Regions from separate parts of the Homo sapiens genome. Here regions 1, 2, 3 and 5 are each linked to region 4. The links are contacts of gene promoters, found by promoter capture Hi-C in blood cells and fetal thymus (Javierre and others, 2016). All regions are on one chromosome and are shown on one strand. Each heading gives the region's core, a stretch centred on a gene start or on the middle of the fragment in contact. The rest is flanking DNA. Distances are from core to core; before and after follow the strand shown.

Evidence for each region. Contacts are between HindIII fragments. The CHiCAGO score rates a contact against its expected background, and 5 or more counts as called.
Region 1: a fragment that was not itself captured here is called in contact with the fragment with the promoter of SLC25A51 in region 4 in 1 of 17 cell types (neutrophils); the score reaches 6.2 in neutrophils.
Region 2: a contact is called between a fragment that was not itself captured here and the fragment with the promoter of SLC25A51 in region 4, in 2 of 17 cell types (endothelial precursors and M1 macrophages). The highest score is 7.9, in endothelial precursors.
Region 3: a fragment that was not itself captured here is called in contact with the fragment with the promoter of SLC25A51 in region 4 in 1 of 17 cell types (endothelial precursors); the score reaches 6.0 in endothelial precursors.
Region 5: a fragment that was not itself captured here is called in contact with the fragment with the promoter of SLC25A51 in region 4 in 15 of 17 cell types (monocytes, fetal thymus, M2 macrophages and 12 more); the score reaches 10.2 in monocytes.

Annotation. Positions count from the first base shown.
Region 1 is chr9:37,774,508-37,777,207 of GRCh38, reverse strand. TRMT10B (tRNA methyltransferase 10B) reads right to left here. Exons shown (of 9, transcript NM_144964.4): 8 at 803-926. Among named protein-coding and RNA genes, the nearest start is that of EXOSC3, 9.2 kb to the left of the region's middle. The HindIII fragment of the contact is 5,813 bases long and covers 1-2,700 here.
Region 2 is chr9:38,123,805-38,126,504 of GRCh38, reverse strand. No RefSeq gene overlaps it. Among named protein-coding and RNA genes, the nearest start is that of SHB, 56 kb to the right of the region's middle. The HindIII fragment of the contact is 2,135 bases long and covers 260-2,394 here.
Region 3 is chr9:38,144,443-38,147,248 of GRCh38, reverse strand. No RefSeq gene overlaps it. Among named protein-coding and RNA genes, the nearest start is that of SHB, 77 kb to the right of the region's middle. The HindIII fragment of the contact is 2,094 bases long and covers 351-2,444 here.
Region 4 is chr9:37,902,765-37,905,465 of GRCh38, reverse strand. It overlaps SLC25A51 (solute carrier family 25 member 51), which reads left to right and starts at 1,339. Exons shown (of 3, transcript NM_033412.4): 1 at 1,339-1,398. It also overlaps the pseudogene PAICSP1. RefSeq lists a silencer at 1,139-1,898. The HindIII fragment of the contact is 4,581 bases long and covers 1-2,696 here.
Region 5 is chr9:38,072,907-38,075,606 of GRCh38, reverse strand. It overlaps LOC105376039 (a long non-coding RNA gene), which reads left to right and starts at 968. Exons shown (of 4, transcript XR_007061483.1): 1 at 968-1,048; 2 at 1,186-1,297. The HindIII fragment of the contact is 4,390 bases long and covers 1-2,700 here.

The DNA.
Region 1 (2,700 bases), core at 142-2,641, 130 kb after region 4:
TTTTTTTTTTTTTGAGGCGGAGTTGCACTCTTGTTGCTCAGGCTGGAGTGCAATGGCACGATCTCAGCTCACCGCAACCTGCACCTCCCAGATTCAAGCAATTCTCTTGCCTCAGCCTCCAGATTAGCTGGGATTACAGGCGCCTGCCACTATGCCCTGCTAATTTTTGTATTTTTAGTAGAGACGGTGTTTCTCCATGTTGGTCAGGCTGGTCTCGACCTCCCGACCTCAGGTGATCTGCCCACCTCAGCCTCCCAAAGTGCTGGGATTACAGGTGTGAGCCACCGTGCCCAGCTTTTTTTTTTGTTTTTGAGACAGAGTATCACTGTCACCCAGGCTGGAGTGCAGTGGTGTGATCTCGGCTCACTGCAACCTCCACTTCCCAGGTTCAAGTGGTTCTCATGCCTCAGCCTCTGGAATAATTGGTATTACAGGCGTGCACCACCACGCCTGACTGATTTTTGTATTTTAGTAGAGATGGGGTTTCACCATGTTGGCCAGGCTGGTTTCGAACTCCTAACCTCAGGTGATCCACCCACCTCGGCCTCTGAAAGTGGATTACAGGATTACAGGTGTGAGCCACTGCACCTGGCCAAGGGGACAATTTCAACTATCTTTAACATAGTTGGTGACGAAGAAAACAGAATGCCTCTTAGTGGCCAGAATATATGTCATGACGTACATGCAATAAAGTCCACACACATTAGTCACAGAGGAGACTGACTCAAAGGCCACTTAAACACAGTGCAAAGCAGCAGCACCAGAACTCACACACCCTGGATGGGGGCCGTGTAAGAAGTACCTTGATTGATGGCCAGTATCTCTGAATGATAGTTTTTCCCATTCTGGTTTCTGACCATGTATTCCTGGATTGGCAAGCGTGCGGTCTTGACAGAGTATTCCCGGGCCTTTTGAAATGTCACCTTCTGTAAATATATAGTTAAATATTTTTCTTATAAAAATTATACATGAGTATATTCTCAATGTAATACAGCATTAAAAATAAGTAGCCTATTGTGGAATGGAAGAAACTGCAGATAATGAGTTAACTGTCTCAAGAGCTTATGTGACAATATCTTACTTTTTGGGGGGTCACTCATCCACAGTCCTCCACTCACTGCCACTTAGAACCAAGAGGGAAATAAGCAAAAGAGGCACATCTGCAGCCACAGTAGGCATCAAAAGGCCCAAGCAGTCTAATCAATCAGAGCACATTCTGAGCCCTAACTCAGTAAGACCCAATTCTGGATATCTGGAACTTCCAGCTCATTGCCAAAAGGCAGCATCAAATTAGAGGAAAAGGTAGACAAGATTCAAGACAGGTGCACCACTGCAACAAGTGGCATTAGGGTGTGAGAAGAGAGAGCCCAATTAAAAGAAAGGGGCCAGGTGAAGTGCCTCACACAACACTTTGAGGCCAAGGCCAGAGGACTGCTTGAGCCCAGGAGTTCAAGACCAGCCTGAGCAACATAGGGAGATCCTGTCTCTACAAATAACAAAAAAAAAATTAACAGGGTGTGCTGGTGTGTGCCTGTAGTCCCAGCTACTCTGGAGGCTGAAGTTGGATGATCACTTGAGCCTGGGACATATATCAAGGCTGCAATGAGCTGTGACTGCACCACTGCACTCCAGCCTGGGTGACAGAGGAGACCCTGTCTCAAAAATATAAAAGGGCGGGCTCTGAAAACTGCAAAAAGGAGTCACAAGAAGTCCATCAACTTGAGGCCATTTAGTGTCAGAGTACAGAAACTGATGTCCCTTTATAAGATGTTCCTTAGTCATGAAGTCCCTCAGACTGAGTCATGACTCAGTCAGATTACATTTGCTGCCTTGTAAGAAGCACAGGAAAGATTTTCTACCTAAGACTTCAGGATTAAAGAGAAAGGTTCAGATTACTGGGATAATTAACATGCCAAGGCTTGGAAGGGGTCTCAATAGTGTTAACTGTATCACTCTAACCACCCATTCATTGTCTGTTCTCTATGACTTCTCCAAGAGGCCATGTGGCCACTCAATGGACAGCTCTTGTGACAGGGAGTTCATGCATCCTGGGACAACCCACTCCAGTTTTGATAGTACCAGCTGATAGGAAATTCTTCTTGATCTTGAGCAAAATTCTGTTTTCTTTGAGACTTCCACTCATTCATCCTAGGTCTATTCCCCCAAGGCCAAACCATGCAAGTAAGATGGCCCTTCCAAAAGATGGCCATTCAGAAACTTGAAGGCAGTGATCATGCCCCTAGGAATCCTCTAGTCTCCAGATTGTAGCCTCAGTTCTGTCAACTCTTCTTTGAATTTCAAGTCCCTTCATCATTCAGGACAAGTTGAACTTGTTCTAAGCTAGTCCAGTATCATTTTGTTTACGGTCCCATAACTGACTGGCCATCATGAGTATGGTCTAACCAGGTGGAATAGTGTGAAGTGGACCTAGTACCTTTTCGGTGCTGACACCTGCCTCACATGAAACAAAATTTTAGATAGAACTTCCAAAAATGTTTTAAGCGATACAGGGACTTATTTGAAAGGATAAAACTCCTTTGCATATATGAGCTATATGATACGTTTGTTTTATAAAAAGTCTTATTCCTTTATAATCACTTTGAAGTACAGAATTCAAAATTAGGATATTTGGGTGTTGCCCTAGAAGAGCTTACAATTTAGTTTATGTTCTTTGCACAATGATTCATAATAAAATGACTC
Region 2 (2,700 bases), core at 78-2,577, 220 kb before region 4:
GCCCAGTGGGTGACATCACAGAATGTCACTGGACACAGAAGTGAGAGGAGGGCACACTCCATGCACAGGGATGGAATCAGCAAAGGAATCGGGGGCCCATCTCTTCAGGAGCAGATGAGTACAGCAGTTAGGTTGAGACCAGACTGTAGAGGGGTGTGGGATGTTTGAAAAGGAGGGTAAGGAGATAACCTTGATCCTGGGGCTTTAGAGAGCCACCGAAGTTTTTTCAGCAGGGGAGTGACAAGCTCAGATTTAAGCTTTAGAAAGATCCCATGGGTTGTTGTCAGTGTGGGGCTGAGATGGAATAGGAGAGACAGGAGGCAGAGACTGTCTGCAAGACCAAGAGAACACAGAGGCAGAAGCTATGCCAACTATCAGAACACATTTGTACATCAACGCACACACCCTAGGCTATAAGGTAGGGGAAGAAGCCAAGCGGAGTGAGTCAGAGATAGGAAATGAGGTCTGAGAAGGACTCGGCAAAAGAGAAACTCACCTTAGAAGACAAATCTGTCAAGGTAGGAAGAGAGCGAAAAGGGACTTCTCAGAAGCCCCATGAATGAGCCTCGTAATTGGAAGAGACCACAAGTGATAAATCGCCACACATCAGAGGAGGCAGGGGCCTTCAAGACTGAGAAATTCTTCATCTCCACTGTGCGGGTGGGGAAATCAAGGTCCAAAAACCATAAAGGACTTGCTGGATCCCCTGGCAAGCCTAGTCTACAATCAGGAGCTCCCACCTCCAAATTCTACAGTTCGCTCCCTCTCCCACATTTTGCCAGGTTAGTGTGTGGCCCCAACTTGCCAGGAAAAAGAATCAGAGCTGTAGAAAACACAGGAAGGTGCCTGGACTCCTAGCTCCTGTGAGAGCCAAATCTAAAGGCCAGAGATCAGAGGTAGGTGGGCCACGGTGGTATCAGGGGCTGTTCCGCCACTCAGAGTCCAGTGAGCACACAGCTAGGACAGGGGCCCTGATGGTGGAAAGAAAAGAGGGAGAAGGGGATATTTTGAAACAAAAGTTAGCAGGATCAGGTGACTGGGGCTCCAGGGTGAAAGAAAGCAAGAGCCTGGGCATGGACAAGCTCTGGCGATGTGGGACACACGTGGGATGATATTATCGTAAATGAACAAGGCCTGGTAGGAGGTGACCCCAAAGTGAGGGCACTAGCAGGATGAAGGGGGCAAAAGACAGAAGGATCTAGCCTGGAGTGAAATTATGAGCTTGGCTTGGACAGGCTGAGTTTGAAGTGATAGTGGGGCACCGATGGTGAATATCTTTGAGCCCTTACTCTATCACGTATCATGGGCACAGGGTATTTATGATATCTCCTTTAGCCTCCCAAGAGCTCCTTTGGAAGACATTATTCTTACCCCTACTGGACAGATGAGGAAACAAAGGAACAGAGCTATAAATAAATTTGTCCAAGGTTCCCAGCTTGCAAATTTCCAAGCCAGGCTGCAAACCCAGGTCGGTCTCACTGTGTTGCCTTCCATCACTAAGGAGCGAAAGAGAGGAGGTCATTGAAGAAGTCAAACCAGGTGAACACTGGAAAGTAGAGAGGAGAGAGAGAAAAGTGAGAGTACGGCAAACCCTGAGCAAGATGAAGAGTCCAGAGTGGAGTCACAGAGGGGCAGAGAGAGGTGGAGGGAGAATCAATAGAGTCTTTGTTACAGGAGCCGAAGTTGGAGAAAGTGTTCAAGCCAATGTCAAGGTGAGTCTTGAAGTCAATCCAAAGTGTCTTATGTGGTGAAGATGTAGTGATCACCATGAAACACAGAAGAACCTTGGGTAATGAGGAATCCCAGTGTTTCAGGGGCCCAGGCTGCCTGGAAGACTTAGAAGGGGCAGTTAGAGTGCAGAAGACAGTCTGGTTGGGGCAAGGTTAAAACAACCAATTCCGGCCAGGCGCAGTGGCTCACGCCTGTAATCTCAGCACTCTGGGGGGCCAAGGCAGGTGGATCACTTGAGGTCAGGAGTTCAAGACCAGCCTGGCCAATATGGTGAAACCCCATCTCTACTGAAAATACAAAAATTAGCCATGCACACCTAATGGGAGCTACTTGGGAGGCTGAGGCACGAGAATTGCTTGAACCCGGGAGGTGAAGGTTGCAGTGAGCCCAGATCATACCACTGCACTCCAGCCTGGGCGACAGAGCAAGACTCCATGTCGAAAAAAAAAAAAAAGAAAAAAGGAAAAAAAAGAAAGAAAAATCAATCCTGTGAGGACGTATCAGGAAACACACCCTGGAAAGAAAAACAGACAAACTGGACTTCAGCAAACTTAAAAATGTTTGTGCTTCAAAGGACACTATCAAGAAAGTTAAAAAGCCATGAAATGGGGGAAAAATGTTTTGCAAATCAGGTCTACAGTGGTTCATAATATTTAAGAAGCTTTAAAAACTAAACAATAAAAAACAAATACCCCAGTTACAAAGTGGACAAAGGATGTGAAGAAATAGACATTTCTCCAAAGAAGATATATAAATTGCCAATAAGCACATAAAAATTACTCAATGTTATTAGTCATTAGAAAACTGCAGGCTGGGTACAGTGGCTCATGTCTGCAATCCCAGCACTTTGGGAGGCCAAGGCAGGAGGATCTCTTGAGCTCAGGAGTTCAAGACCAGCCTGGGCAGCATAGTGAAACCCTGTCTTTACAAAAAAAATTTTTTAATTAGCCAGGCATGGTGGCACACACC
Region 3 (2,806 bases), core at 148-2,647, 240 kb before region 4:
GGGGTGTCACTTTTCTGGCTGGAAACCTCTGTGGCACCTTTGCCTGAGTTTTGCTTGGGCCCACTGGGCTCGTTCTGCCCACTTGGCCTGGCAGGCTTTGCTCACCTTGCACGAAAAGCCTGGATCCCACGCCTGCCAAGGGCAATTCAGGTGCAGAGTGATAAGGGGTATGTGAGTGAGTGAACGTGAGGTCTGGCTGCTGCACACAGCCAGGCACTCCAGCTGCGGCAGGGCAGGCAGCTCCAGGCACTGGCATGGGTGCCGGTTCCCTGCGAGGCTACAGCTGGACCAGGCGTACTGCAAGCAGTTTCTATGGCTGGCACTGGGGAACATGGTGGTGCCTGGAAGCTTGGAGACTCCAAGAACTGCAGAACTCCAAAAAGGGTGTCACAGCCCTGGCTCAAGGAGCTCGTAGGTCTGGGATCCCCAAAGGGCTGAAACTCTTCTCTCCTTCTCTCTTCTCTCCCTCTCATCTTCCGCAATGTGGCAAGCAAAGGACATGTTTCAGTCCTGTCTGTGTTACAGTTCTTTCAGCCCTGCCACTCAGCAGGTCCCAAGTTCTTGTCCTGCATCCAGAAAGAATGAGGTATGCAGACAAGTGGAGGGTAGCAAGGTGAAGAAGTGCTTTATTGAGTGATAGAACAGCTCAGAGGAGACCCGCAGTGGGTAGCTGTCTGCAGGCAGGTCATCCCAACAAGTGTCCAGCTCTCAGCAGAGAGAAGACCCACAGTGGGTAGCTCCTCTCTGCAGACAGGTCATCTGTGCAAGTCTGGCTGAGTCTGGGGTTTTTACATGCCTCAGAGGGGAGGAAGTATGTGCTGATTGGTCCATGGGCAGCCATGGGCAGACCCAGAAAAAGCACCAAAAGTTCTCACTGTGGTCGGCAGAACTGGCAGCCTGGACCCCAGGCTGTCCCTGGCCTGAAGCGGGGGTTTCATCAGGGACACGCCCCTTTCTGCCCAGGAGCCTGTCTGTCTCCTGCTGCCATTAACCTGCCATCCACGGTGCCCACAGTGCTCAGGCTGTTCATGCTGAGGGGTGCCTGCAGACATGCCCTAGCCACCCTTATCCCTGCCTTGGCCTCTCTCCCCTGCTCATCTGCATTCAAAGTCTGGAGGGGGCTGAAGCAGCAGGGAGCTGGCGTGTTAGCACTGCCCTAAGTGTGCACACACCCAGCTGGGTCATGACAGCACCTGGGCTCAGCCACAACTTTGCTCCAAAATTGGAGTGGATGCTGGGAGTGGGAGAGGCCAGGCAGCAGGAGCAGTAACTTCAGAGCCTTCAGGGACAGGGGACTTCCTGGGCCCCTAGAGTGCAGAGAGGCCTGGGTCTGCAGCCATGGCTGGGCAGCTCCAGCTGCCCCAGTAGGGTGGGGCTCTCACACCTCCAACTTGGAAGCGGGCAGGGCTTCTGCCTGTTCCCAGCTCTCACTGGCTCTGTGGAGCGGGCAGCCCTGGCTACCCCGCCCCCACTGCAGCCAGTATCATGGCAGCAGCCAGGCCACCACCGCCATCACTAACACTAACAAAAGCTGATGAGCTAAAAACAAACAAACAAAATCTCATAATATTTTAAGAATGTTCAGGAATTTGTGTTGGGCCACATTCAAAGCTGTCCTGAGCTGCATGCAGCCCGTGGGCCACAGATTAGACAAGCTCGATTGTGCATTTCAGTAACAAAAAGTGATGCCAGGTGCATTGGCTCAAGCCTGTAATCCCAGCACTTTGGGAAGCCAAGGCAGGCAGATCACTTGAGATCAGGAGTTCGAGACCAGCCTGGCCAAAGTGGTGAAACTCCGTCTCTACTAAAAATACAAAAATTAGCCAGGCATGGTGGGGCGTGGTGGGGCTGAGGCAGGAGAATCACTTGAACCTGGGAGGCAGAGGTTGCAGTGAGCCGAGATTGCACCACTGCACTCCAGCCTGGGTGATAGAGTGAGACTCCATCTCAAAAGAAAAATAAAAAAAGTGAAAGAAACAAACAAAATTAAACGCAAATAAATTAAAAATAATGTTGTGAAAAATATGACAATCTTATAACTTTAATATATAAAGATTACTTGAAAATGAATAAAATAATATCCAAAAGAAAGAAAAATGAATATGAACAGTCAATTCCCCCCAAAAGAGGTGAATATACACACACACAGACACACACACACACACACACACAGAAATGAAGGTATGAACAGTAATAAAATAGTAGGAATCGATACTACACATGTATATATATATACACGTGTGTATATATATACATATGTGTATACATATATATATGAAGTGATCAAAGAAATCTATGAAAATTAGTAATAAAAGAAATAGAAAGTATAATACCAATGAATCTAGATATCAAATTAAATAACAGAGATTGTTTAACAATGGTGAAACTAAATGGCTGTCTGGATAAAGAAGGGGACGGTGCTCAGTAACTGCTCACCCAAAGCTTAAGCAAAATCCTTCCTCGGTCCAATCTGTTTTCAAGTCTGCAGCACATGGCAGAAATGATAACATCCAGGTCGGCATTCTGAAACCCAGCCACTGCTGTCCGGGTCACCCAGAGGGCTCCATTTGGAAGCTGAGAGGTGGAGAACCCTGAGCCCTCCATGTTCTCTATGCTACCCAGGAATTTCCATCCTGACTCATAAATTCTTTCCCACCTCCCTCATATCTGCAACCCACATCATTACCTAGAGTCTAACTCATTCAGTTCTCCCATCTGTCTTCACTCTGTATCGCCTAAGTCTTTTCAATCACTCCCTCCCCAGTTTTCTCATGTAAAAGATTGACTTTGATAATCTGATATCAGT
Region 4 (2,701 bases), core at 90-2,589:
TACTAATTAGATGGCAGGTGTCTGTGTCTGACAGTCAAGATTCGCATTATCCAGCCCCACCACCTGACCCTTACAATCTTATCTCCTGCTGCTATGACTTTCTCCACTGGGCCAAATTCCACTCATCCATCCTCCAAGGCCCAGTTCAAACGTCTGCTCTGTGAAGCCATCTCTGGTTCTCCCTCGAGGGGGGAGGTCCCCTCATGCTTCTGAATTTCCAGTCTTTTGTTGTTGTATCCTTCATCAGACGCTAAGCTCCCCAGGACCTGGCACGCAGTAGGTTCCTCAATGGAGCGTTTGCTGGAATGGGGGAGGGTGGTCTCCAGCTTCCCGAGAGGCACCTAAGCACGCCAGCCAAAGTGGGGCTGGGCAGAGACCAGACCCGCTTTTGGAGTCAGTGTCTACAAAGTGCTCTCGGGGGAAGGGGGCACGCGGGGAACGTCGCCCACCCGGAGCCGATCCCCCCAAGAACGCTTCACTCGGGTGGGGTTACTGCTTGGGCTCGCCCCAAGCACAGTGCGCACACTTCACACATCCGCAAGCCTCCTGAAACGCCTCTCCCCTCAGGCCGACCTTTCTGTTTCCTTCAACGCCTCCCATCTGTTGTGTGCGTTCCAGTTTCCAACTCAGAGTCAGAACCATCATTTCCAAAGACTCCTGCAACAGCCCGAGGACGCATACAAGGCATGGGTTACTTTTCAGACGGAGATTTGGGGCTCAGGGTCCAGCGACTCACCCAAGGTCACTCTCAAGAAGTATGAGGGCTATGACTTTGACCCAAGCCTTCTAACTCCCCGGGCAGCGCTCCTCCCAAGCCCCCCGCAAGCTGTCTGAGCTTCAAAGGAAAAAGTTTAAAAGTGATCCATACGTCCCAAAGCACGCACAAAGCGTTCTTCTGTAAACTGCGGCATGGGTCGCTGATAAAAGGTCCCTCTGAAGGTTTGAAGATACTCAACAAGGCTCCACAGAGGGTACTTTGGAGTTTTCCGCGAAGGCGCTCGCCCCGCAGAACCGACAAGGCCCCTAAAACCGACAATGCCCAGACGCCCCCTGCAGGCAGCGCGCTAGAGAACGCGTTGGCTGTTTCTGGCACGCTGAGGCCACCGTACGGCATCAAGGGTGAAGCATGGTGGCTAGCGGAGCCCGCATCCTGACAGGTGTGCTGGCGTGGCCCTCTACCTGCCCCGCCGCGGCGGCCTGCGGCCAGGAGAAGTAGGCTGGCGACATCTGGCGGGCCGCGGGCCGAGGGAGGGGAGGCGGGGCGGGGCGGTGTCTCCCTCACGTGACCCCAACAGCGCCCAGCGCGTCGCGCTGCGCCCCAACCTCGGGGTCGGTCACAGTCTGCGCCTGCGCGGGCCCCGGCTCGCTAGCCGTCCTGCGGGACGCCGGCGCTGATGGGTGAGTGTGGGACGAGCGTGGGGAAGCACCGGGCTTTCTTCGCATGAGGTTGGAGGGAGGGGAAACGCGCTGAAGGGCCCGCTGGGGCAGGCTGCCGCCCTGGGGGCCCATCCCTGTCTTCTGCGCGCTCCGGCTGCCCTGGCCCGGTCCCTGCGGGCCCCACCCAGGCGGCGCGGGCGGAATCAGTTCTGAGCCTCCTCGGCTCCGGGCTCCCCCGCCTGCCGCGGGTGTTTGTCCGGCTGCTGGGCGACCTTTCCCGCGAAGGCGCTGTCCCTTCATTCGGGCGCGCCCTGGGCTGGGGAGGCACCTCCCTGGTGCACAGGAACCGCAGGGGCGGGGAGGAGCCGGGAGCTGCCTGCGCCCGGGGGACAGCGGGGATGGCACCGCGCAAGGGCCTCTGCGTCCCGGGAGACTGGGATTTCGGCCTCACCTCGGGACCCCTGACTGTGAAGTGTCAGAAACGGAAGAGGACTTAGTGATCTTGTCCAACCCCCTCCCCGCCTTTCACAGGTTGGGGAAATGGACGCCTGGAGAACGGTAAGTTCAGCTACATAGCCTGGCAGTGCTTGTTCTGCGACAGCATATTGCATCGCGTTGTAGGAAGCTCACTTGTACAAGGATTTTCGGGGACGATGGTGTTGGTGGTGTTAGTCTCCATCCATTATTTGGTGTTCAGTTTAGCTAGATGGAGTATGTCAGCACCTCAACTTCCTGCAAAACCTTTGTTTTGCATCTCACAGCTCTACCTAGCTGATCTTAATTCCCACCTTCTGTTTTTCTCTACTTGTAATCTCTGAAACAGAAGCCCTTGAAATGTATAGTGACCTTGCCATTTTGAGCCGCCTCTGCCCGTGCTTTGAAAGGATTCCATAGGATCAAAAGGTGCTAGGACTCTTGAGGTCCCATAGTGGTTTAGAGCACAGGTTACCGCTTTGGAACTGGAATCACCCTTAGCGCATCTCAGGGGAAAACAAGCTAGGAGTTGACTCATCTGATCTCTCGTTTGGTAAATGAAAGCAAACTCAGATCAGTGGATTTTAAAATCAGATATTGCTTTGTCTTTATATTGGCAAGCTAGTGTCGTAACTAGGACTAGACCCAGGCTGATCTTGTTCTGAATGCTGACTCAGACCTGCTGACTAGTGGAAATTCACATCCTTTGAGAATTGGAGTCACCCTCTCCCCAGTTTTTGCAGAGACCTTTGTGCTAGGATCATATCTGTATCATGCTGATCCATGTAGGCTGTAAATTATAATAAGGTTTTAGACTTTACACTGTTTTCTTAGTCACAGAAGCTTGACA
Region 5 (2,700 bases), core at 18-2,517, 170 kb before region 4:
GGGGAGGCTCAGCCATGGCGGGCTGCAGGTCGGGAGCCCTGCCCTGCGGGGAGGCAGCTAAGGCCCGGCGAGAAGTCGAGCACAGCAGCTGCTGGCCCAGGTGCTAAGCCCGGGTCGGCGGGGCCGGCTGGCTGCTCCGAGTGCAGGGCCCGCTGACCCCACGCCCACCCGGAACTCGCGCTGGCCCGCAAGCGCCACGCGCAGCCCCGGTTCCCGCCCACGCCTCTCCTTCCACACCTCCCCGCAAGCTGAGGGAGCCGGAGCCGGCTCTGGCCTCAGCCAACCCAGGAAGGGGCTCCCACAGTGCAGCGGCGGGCTGAAGGGCTCCTCAAGTGCCGCCAAAGTGGGAGCCCAGGCAGAGGAGGCGCCGAGAGCGAGGGAGGGCTGCGAGGACTGCCAGCACGCTGTCACCTCTCATTACCACACACACAAAAAGGTCACTATGTGAGATGATAGGTTAACTTGCTTAATTTGACCGTAAAAATTATTTCACTATGTATATGTATATCAAGACATCATGTTATACATCTTACATATATATATTTTAAACCATAGTAAGTCTGACATGCTCCTACCTCCAGGCCAAGGCTAGCAAGCTGAAGTGGACGGAGATGTCCAGCTGTTACCTTCTGCTCTTCCACCCTCCACGATATCAATTGCTTCCATCCACTCATGCATTCAATAAATAGTTATCATGTGCCTACTATGACTACAGGCACTGTTCTGGACACTGGAGGTATGCAGTGAACAAAAGGGCAAAGATCTCTTTCCCGCTGTGGGGCAAGACAAAGAATAAACAAGAAATATATGTAAAATATACAGTAGGTGAAATGAGGAAGAGAGTTATCGGGAAAATAAAATGAGGAAGAGGGATGGCAAGTGTTGAGCAGGGACCGCAGTTCTAGACACTGTGCCCAGGGGAGGCCTCACTGAGCATGTGACATTTAAATAAAGTCCTGAAGGAAGGCACAAGTGTGCCTAGAGGCTTCAAAGAACAGCAAAGAGGCAGCCTGGCTGCAGCAGGAGAGAGAGGACAGCATAACAGGAGGTTAGGAGTTTAAGGGGACCAAGTCATATAAGGCCTTACGGGCTACTGTAAGAATTTTGGCATTTCCTGTTAGGAAAATCAGGATTCCAGGGGGGATGTGAAGAGAGGAAAGACATAATCACACCCATTTTTAACAGGATCACTGGCTGCTGGGGTGAGATGGAAGCAGGGAAGATGGATAAGAGACTCCCACAATAATCCAGGCAAGAGATGAAGGAGTCTTGGTCCAGGATGGTAACAGTGGAGGGGGTGAGTAGTGGCCAGATTCTGCATATACTTTGCCGACGGGCTGGGTAAAGTAGGAATGAACTAAGGGGTCATGGATGACAGAAGTTTTTGCTTTAGATCTTTACTGAGTTCTAATAACTCCCAAATCTACACCTCCAGTCCAGACTTGTGCCCTGACCCTCACAGCTGTTTATACAGGTAGCTAATGCCAAGTCAACCACCTTCTCCTTCCTGCAGTATCACCTTTCACTGGGAAGTGGTTGGTCACCACTCACTAAGTAGCCCAAAGGCAAAGACTTGAGAGTCAGGCAGAGTCTGTCCTCTAAAATGACTTAACACCCTTTCACTACTTCAACGTTATTTATTCATTCAACAAAAGTACTGAGTGCCTTCTGTGCATTAACTACTGTTCTCTGCACCATTTTCTGGTTCCTTAACATTCCTTTAACTGCTCTGCCTACTTTCTGTCTCTCCCCAAGAAATACAACTTCCACACTGCTTCCCAAATAATCTTTATAAAATGTAGAAAACATAAGGTAATTAATTTCCTTGCTCAAAGACCTTCAATGGCTCCCTATTGCCTACAAGATAAAAAATTCTCCTGAGTTTGATATTGAAAACTCTTCCTGATGTGGTACAGCCTACCTTTCTACCCTTACCCACCATTCCATGCATTCAGAGATTCTCAGCTACTCCACTCCACTTGACAACTCACTATGGCCCAAGTGGTTTACCACATGTTCCTGCTTCTATGCCTTTCACGATGTTGCTCTCTCTCTCTCCGCATGGAATTCTCTCGTCTACTTCTACTATATCATAATGCTACTCACTCTTCAAAGCCCAGACCAGATATCACCTCTACTAAGAACCCACTATGATCTGCCCCGCCCCATAATTAAAATCTCCCTTCCCTATAGCCCCATAGCTCTTTGTCCCTTGTTCTGTCCTGCACTTCTCTCATCTTGCCTTGTATAATTATTGGTGAGAGACTGTGGTCCAGATCATCTCTGCATCCTACAGGGCCTGGTACACAGACAGGGGACTGACGTTAACATTCAATGGACAGAACTGAATAATGTTATCTAAAAGAAGTAGATGAGGCCGGGTGCGGTGGCTCACGCATGTAATCCCAGCACTTTGGGAGGCCAAGGTGGGCGGATCACCTGAGGCCGGGAGTTCATGACCAGCCTGACCAACATGGAGAAACCCCATCTCTACTAAAAATACAAAATTAGCCCAGCATGGTGGCGCATGCCTGTAATCCCAGCTACTCGGGGGCTGAGGCAGGGGAATCACTTGAATCCAGGAGGCGGAGGTTGTGTTGAGCCAACATCACCCCATTGCACTCTAGCCTGGGCAACAAGAGTGAAACTCTGTCTCAAAAAAAAAAAGGCCAGGCGCAGTGGCTCACACCTGTAATCCCA